Linked DNA regions of Homo sapiens: all the other regions are linked to region 3. Evidence: promoter capture Hi-C in 16 types of primary human blood cells and fetal thymus (Javierre and others, 2016). All regions are on one chromosome and are shown on one strand. The core of a region is centred on a gene start or on the middle of the fragment in contact, and the rest is flanking DNA. Distances in the headings are between cores, read along the strand shown.

Evidence for each region. The method cuts DNA at HindIII sites, captures the fragments that hold promoters and counts their contacts. A CHiCAGO score of 5 or more calls a contact.
Region 1: a fragment that was not itself captured here is called in contact with the fragment with the promoter of CMC4 in region 3 in 2 of 17 cell types (erythroblasts and total B cells); the score reaches 7.1 in erythroblasts.
Region 2: a contact is called between a fragment that was not itself captured here and the fragment with the promoter of CMC4 in region 3, in 1 of 17 cell types (naive CD4 T cells). The highest score is 7.2, in naive CD4 T cells.

Annotation. Positions count from the first base shown.
Region 1 is chrX:155,866,388-155,870,577 of GRCh38, forward strand. No RefSeq gene overlaps it. Among named protein-coding and RNA genes, the nearest start is that of VAMP7, 13 kb to the right of the region's middle. The HindIII fragment of the contact is 2,309 bases long and covers 438-2,746 here.
Region 2 is chrX:155,649,406-155,653,466 of GRCh38, forward strand. The region is part of intron 1 of SPRY3 (sprouty RTK signaling antagonist 3); the gene reads left to right. Among named protein-coding and RNA genes, the nearest start is that of TMLHE, 38 kb to the left of the region's middle. The HindIII fragment of the contact is 2,374 bases long and covers 1,004-3,377 here.
Region 3 is chrX:155,069,198-155,073,104 of GRCh38, forward strand. CMC4 (C-X9-C motif containing 4) reads right to left here and starts at 1,939. Exons shown (of 3, transcript NM_001018024.3): 1 at 1,497-1,939. MTCP1 (mature T cell proliferation 1) reads right to left here and starts at 1,939. Exons shown (of 5, transcript NM_001018025.4): 1 at 1,497-1,939. It overlaps BRCC3 (BRCA1/BRCA2-containing complex subunit 3), which reads left to right and starts at 2,311. Exons shown (of 11, transcript NM_001018055.3): 1 at 2,311-2,453; 2 at 3,130-3,146. The coding sequence starts at 2,331. RefSeq lists enhancers at 1,567-1,866, 1,851-2,572, 2,337-2,556, 2,567-2,616, 2,573-3,294 and a silencer at 1,907-2,226. The HindIII fragment of the contact is 6,678 bases long and covers 1,436-3,907 here.

The DNA of each region.
Region 1 (4,190 bases), core at 342-2,841, 800 kb after region 3:
CTAGAAACAAGTGATTATCTGTTACTCTTGTGTCACTCAAATCTATGTTCACAAACAGCACTACTGCATTTGGTGTCTTTTTTATCAAGAGACAGAGTCGTGCTCTGTTGCCCAAGTTGTAGTGCAGTGGCACAAAACAGCTCACTGTGAGCTCAAACTCCGATGTCAGCATCTTACTGTTCCTAAAAGGTTAGAAAGACAATAGCTGGCAGAAACTACACGTGTAGAAAAAAATAAACACATTCTTAGCTAGGAAGGTACCAGGAAGTATAAGTATTCTCTGTTTCCTCAAAAATCATAGTAAACTGAAGACCAAAAGATGGGTTAGATTCGTAGTTCTTCCTGAATATCCAATATTATTAAAAATTTTTATTGTGAATATCTGGCCATCACATACTTATACTGTCTTGACTCTAAAGTACATTTTCCTACTTAAAAGCTTTGGTCTGACAGTATGAAATGGGAAGATTATTTTTCATCAGCCAACTTGGAAATGAATTTCATATAACATGCTAAGAATTGCATGAAATTCATTTCTTTTTCTTAGGGAAGATAACAGAAATCACCTTTTAATAGTTTATTTATCTTAAATACTTTATCCAAATATAGAACTACTTCTATCCACAAAGTACATACCTAGAAAAATTCAAGAATAGAAATATCCCAGTAATATGGAGGCCAGGTTTCAGGCAACCTCAACTACTTGAAACACCACCCAGAACCTGAAAGCAAAACAGGCCTTTGAAGTACCGACCTAGCTGTCAAGTATGAACTTGCATACTTCATTTTCAAAAAGTATTCTTGCAAACTGTCATTTAGATAATATAATAGTTAATATTGTGAGTACTTATTATGCATCCATTGTTACTGTTTTCTGTACAAGAGACCATGAAATAAACTCCCAGATTCCACTGTTGGGGAAAATTTTGCCTCTCAAGATAAACACATTCTGTCAGATAATGATAATTAAAACCAAAAAAAACAAAAATATGTACTTCTCTTTTCTATTGGCTGCTATGAAGCACAGAGATAAATTTAGCACTCATAAAAAATAAATATTTTATCCTGGATTCCTCAAATAGTTTCTCTTCTTAATTTCTAATTTCCTTTCCAATCTATTTTTAATCTATCCTACCTTATGTTTTAATACTATAGGGCATCTCAAATCATTTTGTTAAGTTGATAAACTATGTCTTATAAATATTTATAATATTTATTTGTAGAATAAAAACAGTAAGAAAATGGATAGCAATTTAAGAGATGTCAAATATATCTCAGTAAAAAATTAGTGACCAATATAATACCAATAGAAAAACAAAACAAAGCAGAACAAGTCATTCACAAAATAATTAAAAACAAACAGCAATAAAAATAATTTTAAAACAAAAACACTTTTACAAAGGTTTAAGTTCATTCGTAATTAATAAATGCAAGTGAAAATGAGTTAGTTATAATTTATTGCCTATGAAACATCCACAGATAAGATAGAATGAAAATAGCAGCACTGACTAGAGTATGAAAAAGTTATTTTCATCACTTGATGTCCAGGTGTTGGAAATAAATTTTCGGTGCCACAAAAGAAATAGCACTCAAACATAAATTTTCTCAGCAAGGCAATTTTACTTCTATAGAAGGGTGTGTCTCACAGATGGAGCAATGGCGAGAACACACCTGAACAAGGGAGGGGAAGGGATTCTTATCCCTGACACAGGTTGCTCCTACTGCTGTGTCGTTCCCCTATTGGCTAGGGTTGGACCACACAGTCTAAACTAATTCCAATTGGCCATTTTAAAGAGACCAGGTGTACAAGCCAGAGAGGCGGGGTGAGCAGTTTTGGTGGGAAAGGTGGTTATGGAACAGGTGACTAAGGGAGACTCAGGTCAGAGCAGGTGACCAGGGGTGATTCAGGATGGAGCAGGTGACCAGGGGAACAGATGTGAACTACTGATTAGAACTGGCAGAAAGGTTGTTTACTGAAACTAGGGGCAAGGAGATGAAGAGAATGAGAAAGTTAAACTTTAAAATGGAGAACAAGGACCTGAACATACTGACATACTGATTCTTTGAAGAGAAACTTAGAACTCACTGTATTTAACACAGGGAAGGAGTAAATCAACTGGTATAATCTTTTCTGAAAAAAATCTGGCAATATACAACAATAGTTTTTAAAATTTATATATCCTTTGACTCGGAGATTCCAATTACAGAGACTTATCTGTGGCCAACTGCCACTGTTACTACTTGAGACCGTCACTATGACAGTTACTACTGTCACTACTTGAGACCATCATTACAAGACTGAATGAAGGGACGAACATAGAAATGAAAACTTAAGACAAAAGAAACTGTTTTAAAGGAAGGGTCCAGGGGAAGAAGAAGAGAGCTCCCTGCTTCTAGTGAGCATAGGCAGCCCCTGAGCTTCCACAGCCCTTCATATTTATTGGGTAGCAAGAGCAGGGAGGAGGAGGTAATGATTGGTTGGCTGCTTAATTGATAACAGGTTCATATTATTACCAACCGGCTTCAGATGTACCTAATCGCAAGAAACACTGTGCTTGGGTCGTGACTACCCTCAGCATTCCTTCTGGGCAGCAGATGCAGTTTGTCAGTTTACCAACATTCTGCATTGATGAGAACAGTTTGCTGCCCACTCATATAGCCTCCAGTGGTATACTGAGTTGATCACGACCCTCATTCTTTCGGCCTATGACATTTATCCTAAGGAAACATTTAAGTTTGTAGATAAAGCTTTGATTACAAGGTATTTTATCACATTGTATACAACATAGGTAAGCCAGAAATGTAATTGTTCAACAGTAGGTGATAAGTACTGTAACACACTTACATAATAGAATACTATGTAGTACTTAAGGTGATCTGTAAAACTATACTCAACATGGAAAGAGGTTCATAATACATTACTGAGTGAGAGAAATATATTACAAAATATTATGAATGGTATCATCCTATGTTTGCCTTCTCTGTGCCTGCCCTACTTTTGCTGAATATCACAGGAAAAAATAACCCCACCATGTTTTATAATAAATTCATGTTCACAAACCTCAAATCAACATATTATCTGACAATCTTACCACTTTTCCCCAAGTTTACTCTTCCCACTCTTTGAGCTGATTAGTCCATAAGTATTTCTCTTTCCTCAAACCACCAATACCACCTCTCCCAACTTATTCTGAGCCAATGAACTTGCTTTCCTTTTGTCATATTCTTAAAATGAAGGAGCTATCCTTTGCTTAAAGCTCAATGCCTTCTCACCATCCCCTCTTACCTTCTTTTCTCCTTTAGTCTTCCCCCTGCTGCCCTCCCTTGCTCGCATCACCAATTTTCCCATCTCTTTTAGATCCTTCTTACATGCAAATTTGTTCTGGGATATCCTAGCTTAAATAAAATCCTTTCCTGGACCTTACATCTCCATCTAGCTACCAAATTTCTTCCTCCCTTCAGGGAAAAACTTCTCAAAAGAGTTTTCTACACAAGCTATCTCTACTTCATCACCTCTTTGATGTGGCTTTTGTGAACCCAGAAAATGTCAGACAGGTCTCTCGCCCAGGTTGAGGATGCATGCCCGTGACACAGCCTCGGGAAGTCCTAAGGACATGTGCCCAAGGATGCAGCTTGGTTTTATACATTTTAGGGAGGCATGAAACATTAATCAAGTACATTTAAGAAATACATTGGTTTGGTCCAGAAACGCGGGACAACACAAAGAAGCGGGTGGGGGATCCAGGCCACAGGTAAATTTAAACATTTGCTGGTTGACAATTGATTGAGTTTGTCTAAAGACTTGGGATCAATAGAAAGGAATGCTTGGGTTGTGATGAGAAGTCGCAGAAACCAAAAAGTTTTATCATGCAAATGATGAAGCTTTTAGCTAGCAGGCTTCAGAAAGAACAGGCTGTAAAATGTTTCTTATCAGACTTAAAGTCTGTGTTGATGTTCATGCCAGAGAGGTATAATGAGGCGTGTCCAACCCCCACTTCCCTTCATGGCCTGAACCAGTCTTTCAGGTTAAATTTTAAGAGCCCTGGCCGAGGAGGAAGTCCATTTAGATGGTTGAGGGGGCCTTAGAATTTTATTTTTGGTATACACTTTTATCCCCACAATTCCAATAAAATGACACTTGAAAATATCAACAATAATATGATTCATGGTCCCAGTCAAGTTAACATTTT
Region 2 (4,061 bases), core at 941-3,440, 580 kb after region 3:
AAAAGCTTATCCACCACAATCAAGTAGGCTTCATCCCTGGGATGCAAGACTAGTTCAACATACGCAAATCAATAAATGTAATCCATCACATAAACAGAACCAATTACAAAAACCACATGATTATCTCAATAGATGCAGAAAAAGCCTTCAATAAAATTCAACACCCCTTCATGCTAAAAACCCTCAATAAACTAGATATTGATGGAACATATCTCAAAATAATAAGACCTATTTATGGCAAACCCACAGCCAATATCATACTAAATGGGCAAGAGCTGGAAGCATTCCCTTTGAAAATCGGCACAAGACAAGGATGCCCTCTCTCACCACTCCTATTCAACATAGTATTGGAAGTCCGGCCAGGGTAATCACACAAGAGAAGGAAATAAAGGGTATTCAAATAGGAAGGGAGGAAGTCAAATTATCTCTGTTTGCACATGACATGACTTTATATTTAGAAAACCCCATCGTCTCAGCCCAAAAACTCCTTAAGCTGATAAGCAACTTCAGCAGGCTCAGGATACAAAATCAATGTGCAAAAATCACAAGCATTCCTATATACCAATAATAGAGAGCCAAATCATGAGTGAACTCCCATTCACAATTGCTAAAAAGAGAATAAAATACCTAGGAATACAACTTACAGGGGATGTGAAGGACCTCTTCAAGGAGAACTACAAATCACTGCTCGAGGAAATAAGAGAGGACACAATCAAATGGAAAAACATTCCATGCTCATGGATAGGAAGAATCAATATCGTGAAAATGGCCATACTGCTCATAGTAATTTATAGATTCAATGCTATCCTCATTAAGCTACCATTGACTTTCCTCACAGAATTAGAAAAAATTATTTTAAATTTCATATGGAATCAAAATAGAGCCCGTATAGCCAAGACAATCCTAAGCAAACAAAACTATGATATATTGTTATAGTCCTTTAGTTCAGTGTGTTGTTAAGTACTCATGGTTATTTCTTCTTTAATTTTTTAATTACTTTGGAAGCTTCTTGCTTAAATTTCAAATGTAGATTTTTAGCGATTTTTAATTTTGAGCTCAATAGAATTATAAATTGATTTATGACCCAGCATATGCTCAACTTTTATAGATGTTTTATATGTATCTGAAAGCTATACGTGTTCTGCAGTAATTGGATGCAGCGTTCTATATATGTCAATTAGATCAAGTTTATTAATTGGGTTTTTCAAGTCCTCTACATATTGAATTTTTTGTACATTTGTGCAGCAGCCGTGTGGTGTACCACCTTGCTCTCCCTTCAGGAAAGTACCTCCACAGTAGGTGCATTTAGCTGAAAGCCTTCAGCTGCAGCAGTTTGGGGATCTGACATGCGGTTTGATGGAGTGCCAAATTCTTGCTGGAAAGTTCCCAGACAAAAACTGAGCACTATGAAGATACTAGACCTTGGCTATTTCTACCCAATGCAGCATTCTTCTACAGTCACTTAAGTACAGAATTCTTCAATAGCATCATTTTTCATTTCTCTGAGATAAATTCTCAAGAGCACAGTTTCAGGGGCATGTGGTAATTACATTTTTATTTTTCTAAGAAAACACAAAGCTGTTTTCCATAGAGAATGTACTATTTTATATTCCCACCAACAATGTATCAGTGATCCAGTTTCTCTGCATCCTAACCACCATTGATGTTATCACTTTTTTTTTTTTTTTGAAACAGAGTCTTACTCTGTTTTCCAGACTGGAGTGCAGTGGTGCAATCTTGGCTCACGGCAGCCTCCACCTCCTGGGTTCAAGAGATCCTCATGCCTCAGCCTCCTGGGATTACAGGCATACACTACCACACCCGGCTAATTTTTGTATTTTTAGTAGAGACGGGGTTTCACCAGGCTGGTCTTAAACTCTTGGTCTCGAGTGATCTGCCCACCTCAGCCTCCCAAAGTGCTGGGATTACAGGCATGAGCCAGCTCACCCAGCCCAGGTATTTTTAAGTTTAGACATTCTGGTAGGTTTATAGGGGTATCTCATTGTGCTTTTAATTTGCAGTTCCCCCTGGTGGCTAATGATGTATTTTCTCTTTTCATGGCCTTATTTGCAATTTGCATACTCCTTTCAATGAAATGTCTATATCTTTTGTCCATTTCCTAATTATTGAATTTTGAATTTTAAAAATATGTTCTAGATACTAGTCCTAGATTTACAAATATCCCAGTCTGTTGCTTGTCATTTTATCCTTAGAGTTTTTGCAGAGCAAAAGGCTTTAAAATTCTGATGAGGTCTAACTTACCAATTTTCATTTTATGTATCATGCTTTTAACATTTTTTATTTTAATTTTATGGGTACATAGTATATGTATATATTTATGGGGTACATGAGATGTTTCAATATAGGCATGCAATGCATAATAATCATATCATGTAAAATGGGGTATCCATTCCCTCAAGCATTTATCCTTTGTGTTCATATTAGTCCATTCTCGCATTGTTATAAAGAACTACCTGAGACTGGGTAACTTATAAAGAAAAGAGGTTTAAAATTGGCTCACATTTCCACAGGCTGTACAGGAAGCATGGCTGGGGAAGCCTCAGGAAACTTACAATCATGGCAGAAGGCAGAGGGGAAGCAGGAACGTCCTACATGGCTGGAGCAGAAGGAAGAGAGCAAACAGGGAGGTAGAGGTGCTACACACTTTTAAACAACGAGATCTCATGAGAACTCACCATCAGGAGAACAGCGAGGAGGAAATCTGCCCCCATGATCCAATAATCTCCCACTAGGCCCCTCCTCCAACATTGGGGATTACAATTTGACATTAGATTTGGGCGGGGACACAAATCCAAACCATATCAGTGTTATAAACAATCCAATTACACTCTTTTAGTTATTTTAAAATGTACAATTAAATTATTATTGACTATAGTCACACTGTTGTGCTATCAAATACTAGGTCTGATTCATTCTTTCTAACTATTTTTTTTTTATCCATTAACTATCCCCACCTTCCTTCACCCCAGCCCATTACAACCTTTCCCAGTCTCTGGTAGCCATCCTTCTACTCTCTATCTCCATGAATTCAGTCGTTTTGACTTTTAGATCCCACAAATAAGTAAGAACACACAATGTTTTGTCTTTCTTGCCTGCCTTATTTCATGTTGCAAATGACAGGACCTGTTTTATTTCTTTTTATGGCTGAATAGTATTCCATTGTGTGTATATATACCACATTTCATTTATACATTTATCTATTAAGGGACACTCGGGTTGTTACCACTGTTGGGCTACTGTGAATAGTGTTTCTATGAACATTTGTGAGCATATTTTTGGTTGGATATTTGTTTTTGAGTCTCTTGAGTAAATATCTTGGAGTGGAATTGCTGGATGATATAGTAACTTTATGTGTAAGCTTTTGAGTAACTTCCAGAATGTTTTTTGCCATGATTGCACAATTTTAAATTCTCGTTGATGGTTCAGTTTATCTACATTCTCACCAACATTTGTTATTTTCTGCCATTATTGTTATTATTAGCATCCTAATGGGTGTGAAGTGATATCTAATTGTTGTTTTGATTTGCATTTCCCCAGTGATTAATATTGAGCCTCTTTTCATGTGCTTACTGGCCATTTGCATATCTCCTTTAGAGAAATGTCTATTCAAGTCATTTGCTCATTTTTAAATTGGGTTGCTTTTCTCATTATTATTGAGTTGTAGGAGTTACTCATATATTCTGAACACTAGATCCTTATCTAGTTATCAGATATATGGACCCTTATCTAGTTATCAGATATATGATTTGCAAATATGTTCTCTCATTCTGTCTTTTCACCTCTTAATAATGTCTTTTGATGCACTAAGGTTTTGAATTTTGATGAAGTCCATTTTATGGTTTTTAAAATTTTGTTACTTGTGCTTTTGGTGCCATATCTAAGAAACCATTGCCTGATTCAACATCATGATTTATTCCCAAGTTTTCTTCTAATATTGGTACAGTTTTAGCTCTTATATTTAGGTCTTTGAACTATTTTGAGTTAATTTTTATACATAATGTTAGGTAAAGGTCCAACTTCATTCTTTTGCATGTGGATAT
Region 3 (3,907 bases), core at 689-3,188:
AGTTTGCTTTAATTGCCAGGTTGATGAACAGTTTTTAAACATTGATCAGTTGAATACACTTATTTTATTAGAAGTCAATTAATAAACTCGTCCAATTACAATGAGTGAAATTACCAAGAACACAGGCCCAGGCCTGTGTATGAGTCCTGAGTCTGTCACTTACTAGCTTTGTGACCTTGGACAAGTTAACGTCTCTCCACCTCAGTTTCCTGAGGTGTAAAATGAGAATTAAAGAACATATTAATCATGATAGTCTTTATTTAGCATTTCCTATATGTTTACATATATTGACTCATTTAATTTTCACAATCTTCATAGGGCGCTATGAGGTGGGCAGAATTATTATCATCCCCACTTAAAGGTGAGGAAAAGAAAGGCACAGAGAAGTTAGGTAACTTGCTCAAGGTCACACAGTGGGGAAGTTGTTGAGCTTGACTCCAAATGGGGCAGTTTACATGTACCAGGCATATAAATGCTTAGTATCTAGCATATAATAAGCTTGCCATAAATGTTAATAATTTTGTTCTACTCCAGTTAAATGCCTGGAGCTGTAAAAGGCAGCCATGAGCATTAGAAAAGTTAGTGAACCTCATTCTGGAATATGAGATTGACTACCGCCGATAACAAACAAAAGGTATTTTTCTTCTTGAAAGTGCCTAAAGGCACTATATCCCATCACCAAATGTTAATGTCATAATAATAAGAACAGCCGTTCCTGCTCCATGAGGACGGGGCATACTAGCCACAAACAGTAACTGAAAATAACATATGATATAAAATTGAAACAAGAGAAAATTTAGACAGGTCCAATGTAACTGCACACGAAAATTTTCCAACCTTCATCATGATCAAATTAATTATAGAAAGATGTGCCATGTGATCCTTACAGATCGTTAGGTAAAAACGGAGGCTGCTGGCGTGCACATTACAGATCGTTGCACTGGATGGGGACCCTATGTGTGGGGAGACTTGGGTTGGAACTGACTTGGGAGAAAAGAGCAAAGCATCAACACTTCAAGTAGCACCTTGGGAATGTTCCCTTTCCAGTACTGCCATACCTGCCTGGCTTCAAAACTACACAAAGTAGAAAACCAAATCAAAGACACGAACACGGACGGGCTGTGGAGGCGGCACGGCATATATTGTGCTTTGATTTAGAATCGCTTTCAAAATCCACGTGTGATTCCTAGACTTGTGAGTTGGAAGATCTGTACTTTTATCCTTGGCACGTTTGACATACCTCGAAATAAAAATTACTTTTACATATATTTTTACTGTCTGATATCATCGAGACAAGGAGACCCGAGGAAACTTGCATTCTGGATACCTAATGTGATACATCCGAACTTGAATAAAAACTGAAGTTCTCCATTTCCCCTTCCCTGTATCCAACAAATAGCTACCTAAAAGCCTTTGTAGAAAGTAGCAGCAGCCAAGCTTAAGAGTGATACTTTTTCAGATACAGTATAACACTGTTTCTGCAAAAGGTTACTCACATGAATATAATGTTTCTTGGGCTAATTAATCCGCCTTGAGAACAGCTAGGCTAAAACTTCCAGGTCTCCCACCCTGGGCCACTCAAGCCAGGATCGCGACGTGAGCCCGGGGTGAGCCGAGGGGCATCCCGGGCCGAGGTCACTCGAACCGAAGTTATGAGGCGCGGGCCGGCAACCGGAAGTGGTCCAGGGAGAGTTGTACGAGATTCGGGGGCTGTGACTTGGAAATAAAACAAAATAAAATAAAACCTTAACTGTTTTGGGACTGACTTTCAAAAGAGCGTCCCCCTGGCTCAAGAGGCCGGCGTTCGCGGAGATGTCGTCTTAAAGGGCTGTCCCCCAAGCGTGTAGGCCGCGCACGGGTCTCCTTAGCGGGCGGGCAAAATGGGCGCCGGTACTCGGGAGGCGCCTGCCCAGGCGCCCGGGCGCCGCTCACAGAGTACGTCCGCCTGCGGCCCCAGAGCGCCGCCTCCCTGCCGCCCCCGCCGCCCGGCCTGACGCCCGGACCGCGGCCGGCCACCGCCCTCCGCCCCGACGGCCACGCCTGCCCCAAACCGCGCGGGCGTTTCCCAGGTGCTGCTGGGCGGGCCCCGCCCCCGTGCCCCAAGGCCCGCCCCCGCGCGCCAGCCGCGCGCCCGCTGCCCCCTCCTCGCCCCCACAGCCCCGCCCCCACAGCCCCGCCCGCTCCCTAAGCCCCGCCCCCTAGGAACCCGCGCGCCGAAGGCCAGGCCTGGGCGGAGCGCACAGCGCTGGGCGCTGGGGAGGCTGCGCCGCAGCACCCGGTTGGTCAGGACCAAGTGGGCCCGAGGCGGACGTGAGAAGGGTCGGGCCAAGATGGCGGTGCAGGTGGTGCAGGCGGTGCAGGCGGTTCATCTCGAGTCTGACGCTTTCCTCGTTTGTCTCAACCACGCTCTGAGCACAGAGAAGGAGGAAGTAATGGGGCTGTGCATAGGGGAGGTGAGTAGGTCTGTTAGCCTGGATGGAACCCTGCTGAGCAGTCCCAGTGTGTCCCCGGGGTGGGTGCCGGCAGCTCCCAGGGCTGCGGAGGCCACAGGCATCCTCGATTTAGGTCCTTGGACACCCTTTACATAGCTCTGTCGCGGGGAGCCCCGTTTCTTCTGGCCGCCTGACACTTGTTTAGTCTCCTGCGAGCCCCCGGCGGTCTGTACAGGCCCCGGGAGCCTTGCCCTTTCTCCTGTAGCCTGGGGCTTCTCTTTAGATCTGCGCTTTTCGCCCGGTTGACCAAAACTGCAAGGCAGGTCAGAAAGACACTGGAGTATAATGAGGATGTCCGGGTATTACGACGCAGCAGCTGACCACAGTTAGAGCCCCTTGCCTCGCCTCGAGTCTTCTGTCTAGGGAGCAGAGATATCAACCAAAGCATTTGAAGGGTATCGAAGAGCCTAACAGAAGGTGCGGGGCTTGAAGGAAGCAAAAGTTTCCGCTGCATTGTGTTGAGGAGGGGCCGAAGAGGATGAGGAAATACAGTTTAGCTGTTTACAGTCTAAAGTAATTCTCCAGTCTTTCATACCATGTGCGTGAACACATGACCTAATTGTCATATAATCTGCATCCATATATGTCAAACAAACGTAATGTGATCAATAATGTTTTTTGCTTTTTCCCACTCTAGTTGAACGATGATACAAGGTAAGACTGTATTTGTTTACTCATATCTTATAATCTCTAAGTCATTGTTAACCTAAAATTATGGCGACTTTGGCAGTATTGTGTCCGGATCGTGTCTTAAATTAATTACCATTATCACTCCGGGGCTCCCTTAATGATACAACCTTGAACTTTGGTTTCTGCCTTACCTCCTATTCAGTTGAGATATGGGATAAACATCTTAATAAGCATTATCATAATTGTTGCGTTTTAGGGGTGAGACAGAGCCTCACTCTGTCGCCCAGGCTGGAGTGCAGTGGCGCGATCTCTGCTCACTGCAACCTCCGCCTCCCAGGTTCAAGCGATTCTCATACTTCAGACTCCCGAATAGCTGAGATTACAGGTGCCCGCCACCACACCCGGCTGTCTTTTTTTTTTGTACAGACGGGGTTTCACCATGTTGGCCAGGCTGGTCTCGAACTCCTGGCTCAAGCAGTCTGCCCACCTCGACCTCCCCAAGTGCTGGAATTTCAGGCGTGAGCCACCACACCTGGCCTTGCTCAGTGTATTTCATGTTCTGTCTCCCCTTAAATGCCAGTGAGATATCAGTAATTTTCTTAGTGACAGAGAGCATATACGTTTAGAGGCATTTCCCCATTGATCCATTCCTTCACGTAAATTGACAGTGACATTGCCTTTCCTCCTGATGGACCTCAGTGATCTCAGAGATCCCCAGTAGCTTCAATACTTGACGTGGTGAAACCTTTCGGTAACATTTTAATTTAAACTTCAAATCATACCAT